3 separate regions of the Homo sapiens genome follow, and regions 2 and 3 are each linked to region 1. Evidence: promoter capture Hi-C in human tissues and cell types (Jung and others, 2019). All regions are on one chromosome and are shown on one strand. Each heading gives the region's core, a stretch centred on a gene start or on the middle of the fragment in contact. The rest is flanking DNA. Distances are from core to core; before and after follow the strand shown.

Evidence for each region. The method cuts DNA at HindIII sites, captures the fragments that hold promoters and counts their contacts. A contact is called where the count stands out against the background at its distance.
Region 2: a contact is called between a fragment that was not itself captured here and the fragment with the promoter of PCBD2 in region 1, in 1 of the 25 tissues and cell types used here (dorsolateral prefrontal cortex).
Region 3: a fragment that was not itself captured here is called in contact with the fragment with the promoter of PCBD2 in region 1 in 1 of the 25 tissues and cell types used here (IMR-90 fibroblasts).

Annotation. Positions count from the first base shown.
Region 1 is chr5:134,903,413-134,906,562 of GRCh38, reverse strand. PCBD2 (pterin-4 alpha-carbinolamine dehydratase 2) reads right to left here and starts at 1,432. Exons shown (of 4, transcript NM_032151.5): 1 at 1,340-1,432. The coding sequence starts at 1,423. RefSeq lists enhancers at 349-934, 935-1,519 and a silencer at 1,117-1,876. The HindIII fragment of the contact is 17,365 bases long and covers 1-3,150 here.
Region 2 is chr5:134,406,785-134,409,934 of GRCh38, reverse strand. CDKN2AIPNL (CDKN2A interacting protein N-terminal like) reads left to right here. Exons shown (of 3, transcript NM_080656.3): 2 at 1-32. Among named protein-coding and RNA genes, the nearest start is that of CDKN2AIPNL, 3.5 kb to the left of the region's middle. The HindIII fragment of the contact is 4,343 bases long and covers 1-3,150 here.
Region 3 is chr5:135,181,077-135,184,226 of GRCh38, reverse strand. All of the region lies in intron 3 of PITX1-AS1 (PITX1 antisense RNA 1), which reads right to left. Among named protein-coding and RNA genes, the nearest start is that of LINC02900, 66 kb to the left of the region's middle. The HindIII fragment of the contact is 5,242 bases long and covers 1-3,150 here.

The DNA of each region.
Region 1 (3,150 bases), core at 183-2,682:
CACTCAACTTGTGTTCTCCCCTTCGTGGACAAGAAGCGGCGGAGTGCCTATCTTCCTCCGTCTTCGAGCTATTTTAAATTTCTTCTATTACAGCACTTTGGGAGGCCGAGGAGGGTGGATGACGAGGTCAGGAGATCGAGACCATCCTGGCTAACACGGTGAAACCCCGCCTCTACTAAAAATACAAAAAAATTAGCCGGGCGTGGCGACGGGCGCCTGTTGTCCCAGCTACTCGGGAGGCTGAGGCAGGAAAATGGCGTGAACCCGGGAGGCGGAGCTTGCAATACGCCGAGATCGCGCCACTGCACTCCAGCCTGGGTGACGGCGTGATTCTCCTTCTCAAAAAAAAAAAAAAAAAAAAAAAAAAATTCTTCTATTAAAGAATTTCAGGCCAGGCGCAGTGGCTCGCGCCTGTAATCCCAGCACTTTGGGAGGCCGAGGCAGGTAGATCACCTGAGGTCAGGAGTTCGAGACTAGCCTGGCCAACATGGCGAAAACCCCTCTCTACTAAAAATATAAAAAATTACCTGGGCGAAATGGCACGCGCCTGTAATCGCAGCTACTCGGGAGGGTGAGGCAGGAGAATAGCGTGAACCCAGGAGATGGAGGTTGCAGTGAGCCGAGATCGCGCCACTCCACTCCGGGCTCGGCGATACAGCGAGACTCCGTGTCGAAAAAACAAAACAAAACAAAACATTTCAAACTGAAATGGGCGGTTAAAATGCAACTTAAAATGAGATGGTGAGTTTAACGCACCACTTTTCCACTAGGTGGTGCTGCATGTTAAAACTTTCCCTCCATTTACTCCAAAATATTAATTTCTACAGCAGGAAAACTGACGGCCCCTTGGAAAAGGAAAGAAAAGTCAATATGTCACCAAAAAAGACAATTTATTAATAACTCCTCCAAAACCTCTGTGGGTTCCCCTTGGAGTGAAGCGCGAGCAGGGAGCCGCCATAGGGAGCCAGGCCCGCAGCGCCGTTCGTCCTCAGCACAACGAGCGGCAGCGGGCACCGAATTGTTCTGCAACTACTTTTCACATCTGCCTTTTGTAGTTGCTGAACAAAATTCGTTCCCATTTGTTTCCGGTTGGCAAGTTCGTAGGCTTCGGCGGAAGTGTAAAGTCAAGGGCAAGTGGCGGAGGCTGCGGCCACCCCGGTCTCTGAGCGGCGCACCGGACAGGTGGTCAGTCCCGGGACGCGGTGACCCGACGCCCGAGCTCCAAGGCTCGGCCCACGCCGGGTTCGCCCCAGTCCCGCTGGTCCCTCAGCCGACGCCGCCGGGCCTCGCACCGCCCCCCGACCCCGGACCCCCACCCACGCGGCCGCTGTGCACTCACCATGGCCGCTAGCCCTAGGCTCTGGCCTCGCAGCGCCGCCAACAAGCGCCGCGTCGCCCCGAGCGCCCCGAGCACCGCCGCCATTGGCCGTCTGCCGAGGGCTGCCCCGCGCGCTGCCTGCCGGCCGCCCACAGCCGCCCCCGACCCGACCACGCCCAGCTACCGCCAGCCCTGGTAGTCTCCCTGCGGGGCTGGCCCGGAGCGGGGTCTGTGTGTGGGAAGCGCCCAGCCTTCCCGCGGGCACAGGCGCAGCCCGGACCCCGAACACCCCCAGGAGCTTCAGCGGTCGCCAGCGCCCTTGGCCGCCAGGTGGACTCTGCGCGCCCCACAGCCGTAGGCCCAGCAGGCGCGCGCGGTCCCCGCCCCGTGCGGGCCCGTCGCGTCTGTGCCCGGGACGCAGGTCGCCCGGCGCGCGCTGGCCTTGCCCTCCGGTCCTCGCTGCGCTAGGAGGAACTTCGCCCAGCCTCGGGCGCCGGCCTCCTCCGCTTCGCGGGCGCTAGCACCGAGCTGGGCTCCCCGCTTGGCGGCGCTGCGCGCAGTCCATGCGGGCAGGAGGATGTCGTAGGCCAGGGCGGGGCAGTTGAGCGGCGGGGCTGGGGCAGTGAACCACGGCAGTTCCCATCGGGGGCTCCTAAGTCTTGCAGTAGTGGGTTCGAACGCAGCCTCTGTTCAGTCATCACGCAGCTGCCAAGTTCTTGAGCCAGCTGGCTCGTCTGGGTTTGCCTGGACCAAAAAGTGTGGAAACCCGGCCTGTAATCCCCTCCCAAACGTGTCCGTGCCCTGTTTACCCCCAGGCTCAGCACACAGTAGGAGCTCTGCAGACAGCTGTGAACAGATTTAGGTGAATCTTTTCTTGTATCATTTTTGGGGAGGTATTCTTTCATTCTTTTTTTTTTTTTTTTTTTGACTTTTTTGAGATGTAATTGACATACTATTAAGAATACTCACTTGTATCTTTTTTTTTTTTTTTTTTTTTTGAGACGGAGTCTCGCTCTGTCGCCCAGGCTGGAGTGCAGTGGCGCGATCTCGGCTCACTGCAAGCTCCGCCTCCCGGGTTCACGCCATTCTCCTGCCTTAGTCTCCCGAGTAGCTGGGACTACAGTCACCCGCCACCACGCCCGGCTAATTTTGTTTTTGTATGTTTAGTAGAGACGGGGTTTCACAGTGTTAGCCAGGATGGCCTCAATCTCCTGACCTCGTGATCCGCCCGCCTCGGCCTCCTAAAGTGCTGGGATTACAGGCGTGAGCCACCGCGCCCGGCCTCTTTTTTGTTTGTTTTTAACTGAATAGTTTAAGCAGGCCAGGCATGGTGGCCCGCACCTGTAATCACAGCACTTTGGGAGGACAAGGCAGGAGGATCACTTGAGGCCAGATGTTCGAGATCTGCCTGGGCAACATGGCAAAACCCCATCTCTATTAAAAATACAAAAATTAGCCACGCGTGGTGGCACGTGCTGGTAGTTCCAGCTATCCGTGAGGCTGAGATGGGAGGATGGCTTGAGCCCGGGAGGCTGCAGTGAGCTGAAATCACGCCACTGCATTCCATCGACAGCAAAATACCCTTTCCCTCACCCCCCTCAAAAATAAAAAAAAAAGTTTATGCAAATTAATAAGCAGTTTTGCAGAGGATATGGCAAAATATTTTTTTTAAGAACAAGAGTCCATTTAACTTCAACTTAGCAGTTATTAGCAGTCCATCCATATGGACCTAGAAAAAATAAAGCATTTTGCCTCAAAGTAGCCCAAAATTCACGGGCTTCTGTTCTTCCCATTTGCCCACTTGACAAAATGTAACCATTTCGCCGGGTGCA
Region 2 (3,150 bases), core at 417-2,916, 500 kb after region 1:
AATTTACTACCAGAAGTGAATTAATGAAAAAGGTAAATAGGATTTCCAAGTGCATGTGATGAAATGGTGTAGAGTTAACAGTCCCTGCCTTGATGACACTATATTAGAGTATATTGTTTTTGAATGCTCTTTACTGCCCCAAAGACCTATACCCTTTCATTTTTATTTCCCCATAATTGGTATAAGCCTTTTCATAAATAGTTGACAACTCACTGTGGTAAATTATGCATTGTTGATGAGGTAACACATAAGCTTAACCTCTTCCGGTTGTTTAGGAACATTGTTTTGAGATTTTTGCTTGATGTTTAAAAAGATGTTGGCTAGAATACTTAAGTTTCCTACTTGTTAAAAAATCTCATTGGTAAGACTCATCCTTACCCCAGGTGTGAGTGCCGGTGTGAGTGCCGACCTGACTTGTTTGGCTTCTGTGATTTGCTGATAAGAACGTGCCTGGAGCAATGTCGATGGCATAGCTGTTCTCTACCCTTTGGGGTCTGATCTCAGGCGATGGGCTTTTTACAGTGAGTCTTGCCTAGAGTCTTGAATCTGGACACTGGAGCTGGGGCTACAGAATGTGGCAGAAAGAACCTCAGAATATGGAGCTGGGCATCCCAGCTATTAATACTTTTCAGAATCACCTCCAAAACATGCTTGTTTCACATTTGTCTGCTCAGGCAGCAGAATTAATTGCTCGCTTATCTTCTGAAGTTCCTTTGGCACTTTATCCAGGGCTCTTTTAAAGCAGTTGTGACCTTACAGATGGTGTCTAAAGTTCTATTTAGTCTTTACAACTCCCAAACCTAGTATACTTATACCCCAGAGAAGGTACTCAGAAAATACTTATAAAATCGACTGAAGCAGTAGAGTAAAAAGCTGCTGGCCCCTTTTTAGGTCTGCCCTTAGAAACATAGGTAAGCCCATTCCTCCACATTTAGGTCTTGTCTTGGGAGGTGGGGCACATATAGAGGTCCTCTTCCATATGGGTGTCAAGGAACTAATCAGATTCTCAGTTGCTCATAAAGTATTTCAGTCCCAAATAGTACACCCCACTTGATTTTCAGGATGGTTTGTTTTTCTTAAAAAAGTATTCTTTTAGTTTTAATCTGAACCTGGGGAAAAGCTTCAGGTTGGTTTTCGAGATGCTATTATGTTTTAAAATCAGCTGTTACCTCAACACAGTACTCCTGACAAAAAATCAGTAAGTAAAATCAGCTGTTTTTTTGTTTTTGTTTGTTTGTTTGTTTGTTTTTGAGAGGGAGTCTCCCTGTGTCGCCCAGGCTGGAGTGAGGTGGTGCGATCTGGGCTCACTGCAAGCTCTGCCTCCCAGGTTCACACCATTCTCCTGCCTCAGCCTCCTGAGTAGCTGGGACTACAGGCGCCTGCCACCACGCCCAGCCAATTTTTTTTTTTTTTTTTTTTTTGTATTTTTAGTAGAGACGGGGTTTCACCGTGTTAGCCAGGATGGTCTCGATCTCCTGACCTCGTGATCCGCCCGCCTCGGCCTCCCAAAGTGCTGGGATTACAGGTGTGAGCCACCGCACCAGGACTAAAATCAGCTGTTAAAAAGGGGCTACTGTTTTTAGCCAGGGAGCAGTGTGAATTGGGAGTGTGTGGCTTTTTGGATCTTCTCATGTAATACTTAAAAAAATACTGGGCAGTCCTTGGGTGTTCTATAGTAAGGTTCTTGGGGCCCAGCCAGGGAGGAGCTAGATAGTTTCTGGCTACTGGAGTATACCTTATGGGGCAGGGGCAGGGGCAGAGGTAGGCAGGGAATGAGGTGAGCCTTTATTTTTAATTTATTTTTTAGATAGAGGCTCACTTTGTCACCCAGGCTGGAGTGCAGTGGCACGATCTCAGCTCACTGCAACCTCTGCCTCCCAGGCTCAAGTGATTCTAGCGCCACAGCCTCCCCAGTAGCTGGGATTACAGCCGGGTGCCACCATACCCAGCTAATTTTTGTATTTTTAGTAGAGAAAGGGTTTTGCCATGTTGTCCAGGCTGGTCTTGAACTCCTGGCCTCAAGTGATCTGCCCAGCTTCCCAAAGTGCTAGGATTACAGGCGTGAGCCACTGCACCTGGCCGAGCCTTTATTTTTTAACTGCTTGTGATAGATTCTTTCCTTTTTGTTTCTAAGAGGTTTTCTGATTTTCCTTTTTTTTTTTTTTTGAGATGGAGTTTTGCTCTTGTTGCCCAGGCTGGAGTGCAATGGTTCAGCTCACTGCAACCTCTGCCTCGCGAGTTTAAGCGATCCCTTGCCTCAGCGTCCCAAGAAGCTGGGATTACAGGCGCCTGCCACCACGCGCGGCTATTTTTTGTATTTTTTAGTAGAGATGAGGTTTCACCATGTTGGCCAAGTTGTTCTCGAACTCCTGACCTCAGGTGATCCACCCACCTCAGCTTCCCAAAGTGCTGGGATTACATGCGTTAGCCACTGTGCCCAGCAAGGTTTTCTGATTTTTTATATCAGTTCTCCATTATACTTCTCTGTCTTATATGTTTTCTGAAAGGTATCTGAACTCTTTCCAGTCATGTTGGGTATTAGAGATCAGAACACCTAATGACATTGGGCTGCAGACCCCAGTAGGAGACTAAGGAGGTTTGGCACGTCCCAAACATTATCTATAGACCAGTGTGAAGTGTGTGTGTGTGTGTGTGTGTGTGTGTGTGTGTGTGTGTGTTAGGAAGGGTCTTTCTGAAACATCCTAAAGGGGTCTTATACCTAAAAAATGTACAGAGCCCCTGCCCTGGGATGTTCATTCTTGACACTGTCATTGCACAGTGTGAGTCTACAGAGAAGAGTCCTCAGGCATGAAATTATCTTCTTGAAACCAGTGCCGCCATCTTACTAATCATTAGCAGTTAGCTATGTGGAAGAAGCCTATATAGAGGCCATACTTCTATAGCATTTTTGAATTGTGTGTTGCAACTTCCTTCAAATAAAACTTATGTTTTTCTAAGTAGCCAGGTTTAACTTTAGTCTGTTGATGCCACTCTAAGTGAAATTCAGCTGATCCTGAAAAGTGAGATACTTAGAGGGTGCATAGAGTTTTGCCAGTTTTGTTTTCAGACAGGGGTCTCTCTCTGTGGCTCAGGCTGGAGTGCAGTGGCTTGCTCACGGCTACCCGCAGCCTTGACCTGCCAGGCTCAAGT
Region 3 (3,150 bases), core at 488-2,987, 280 kb before region 1:
GCTTCCTGTGAAGCATATCCTGAGACTTCCAGAGGAACTTCAGAAGGGAATTTTTTGCACGTACCCACTTCTTCCAAATGGCATTCCCCCTGCTTGGCAGAGCCTGTGGCCACACATCTGCCCAGACGCCTGGGCAGGAGACTCTGCCAAGGAAGCACTGTTGACCAGCTTCTTGGGCTCCTGTTGGGAGAGGGAAGGTAGGTTCCCTCTAGGATGTGGCTGGAGGACACAGAACTGGTCCCCACTCATTCCTGAGACCACCACCTGTCTGGGGACAGGGTCCTTGCCAGGGGGAAGCCCAAAAGCCACCTCTGGCCTCCTGTGAATGCAGACTCGGCAGTCTCGACTCGCCTCCCTAACTCCTGGCTCGTGCTTTGCATTTTCTCTCTCCCTCATCTGAACTCAAGGCAAGACACTGCCAATTGAACCGGGAGACAGCTGCCAATTAATAATAATATCAATGATACAAATCATTGACAGTTTTGTAAAGCTTACCTTGTGCTAAGCATCGTAAGCTCATTCTTCATCATACTGAGTCATAGCCACCCTTTGTGGTAGGTATCAATATCCACCCCATTGTTTAGATGAATAACCTGAGGCTAAGGGCAACTTACCCCAGATCACACGGCAACTTCATACATTTTCTTTACTTTACAAGCACTCACATAGCTCTTATTTTGTGCCAGGACTGTTCTAAATGGTTTTAAACTATTAACTGGTTAAATCCTCAATGCAACCCTGAGTAATAGGTATTCTTCTTCTTCTTCTTTTTTTTTTTTTTTTTGAGACAGAGTCTTGCTCTGTCACCCAGACTGGAGTGCAATGGCGCGATCTTGGCTCACTGCAACCTCCGCCTCCCCAGTTCAAGCAATTTTCCTGCCCCAGCCTCCAGAGTAGCTGGGATTACCGGCACCCACCATCATGCCCAGCTAATTTCTGTATTTTTGTAGAGACGGGGTTTCACTATGTTGGCCAGGCTGGTCTCAAACTCCTGACCTCAGGTGATCCACCCACCTCAGCCTCCCAAACTGCTGGGATTACAGTTGTGAGCCACTGCGCCCAGCCTTCTTATTTTAAAACGAGCAAACAGACACAGAGAAGTTACTTGTCCTGGGTCGAACAGCCAGTAAGCGACTAAGCCAAGATTCCAACATGCGCAGTCTGACTCCAAAACCCAAGTTCTTAGCCTCTCCATGGGGCTAACAGCAGTCTCTAACAAAAGAAGGAAAAGGAAGTGCCGCTGTGAGAGGGAACAGCCGTGGCACTGTGCTGATGTGAAAAGCGCACAGGTCCACAGCCCAGAGGCCCGGGCCCCAGCACCAGCTCTGCTGTGTGGTGACTGGGAGGCCTCACCACCTGGATGCTAAGGTGACTGGTGGGGACCAGGGACCCTCCAAGGTCTCAAAGTCAGCCTCTAGAAGATTCATGGGGGGTAGGTAATTCTGCCAAGAGCCCTAGAAGACTGGGGGTGCCCTGCTCTGCTCCTCCCCAGCCCTACTCCCACCCTTCCTCACCTTCCCCCTTGAGCCAGGCCTGGGGGGATTCTCTACTGGGGAATTCATATACATCCCCTTCCTCTGCATGAATGCTCAGGCTCCTAACTCCACACACAACCAATTCAAATGACGTTCCCATTTCTGCCAGTCCCCTGCAAAACCAATGGGGGCAGAATACAGAAGGGCACGCAAAATGAAAATCCTGCAACGGTATATTCCTTCTCATGTATATGTTTAAAATATGTCCAAAAAATAAAAATATCCCCCAACCCACCCACATAAACACACTGCCATAAACAGCTGAAGTGCTCCGTGTGGAAAATCCATCAGGGTAACTATGGACAAAGCCATTCAGGCTCAGCCCTAGTCTAGCCTAGGGCCTCAGAGTCCTCAGCCTCCCTTTGCTCAGGGCTGGGCCAGCAGCTGGCTGTGGGACCACGTGGAGGCTTCCTTGCTCTCCATGTTTCCTATGGCTCAATGGCTCTGTCCACTGTCTCCCAGCCTTGAACAACCTCCAAACATCTGGGCTAGGCCATGCTCACTAAATTCTATTCGTAACCTCCAAAATCAACACTTATGATTGCTTTCATGGTCATTTGCAGACATGCATAGAGTACTGAAACACCTGAGTCACCTGATGTACAAGTGTCCAGCTGAAGTTAAACCCTCTGCCTTCTTGTCTCAGCTCATACTGTAAACAAGTGTCCTTTCTTTCTTTTTTTTTTCTTTTTTTTTTTTTTAAGATGGAGTTTGCTTTTGTTGCCCAGGCTGGAGTGCAGTGGTACAATCTCGGCTCACTGCAACCCCCGCCTCCCAGGTTCAAGGGATTCTGTTGCCTCAGCCCCTGAGAAGCTGAGATTACAGGTGTTCACCACCAGGGCCAGCTAATTTTTACTATTTTTAGTAGAGATGGTTTTTCACCATGTTTGGTCAGGCTGATCTCAAACTCCTGATCTCAAATGATCCTCCTGCCTTGGCCTCCCAAAGTGCTGGGATTACAGGCATGAGCCGCCACACCCAGACAACAAGTATCCTTTCTGCTGTGTGTAGGGTTATGTGTTTTTTCTTTTTTCTTATATTATTGTTCTTTTTGTTGGTGGTTTTGCTGTTTAAAATAGCCCCCAAGAATACTTCTGTGAAATGTTCCTAAGAGCAAGAAGGCCATGATGTACTTTATAGAGAAAATAGTTGTGTTAGAGCAGGGGCTTCCAATCTTTTGGCCTCCCTGGGCCACATTGGAAGAAGAATTGTCTTGGGCCACACGTAAAGTACACTAACACTAACGATAGCTAATGAGCTAAAAAAAAATCGTCAAAAAAAATCTCATAATGTTTTTAAAAAGTTTATGAATTTGTGTTGGGCCACATTCAAAGCTGTCCTGGGCCTCATGCAGCCTGCAGGCCACGGGTTGGACAAGCTGTGTTAGATGATAAGCATGAGTTACAACGCTACTGGCCATGAAGTCGATGTTTCTGAATCATCAACATATATTAAATAAGGTGCTTTAAACAGTAACACACATAAAACAAGGTTATGTATTGATCAGTTGACAAAAATGTGACCAGAAGCTCACAGGAACCTAACTTTGTATTGTCCCTAGGAGCAGTGGTTTAGTATTTGCTAATTCGGTGTTGGTGGGGACTTTATAGAACAT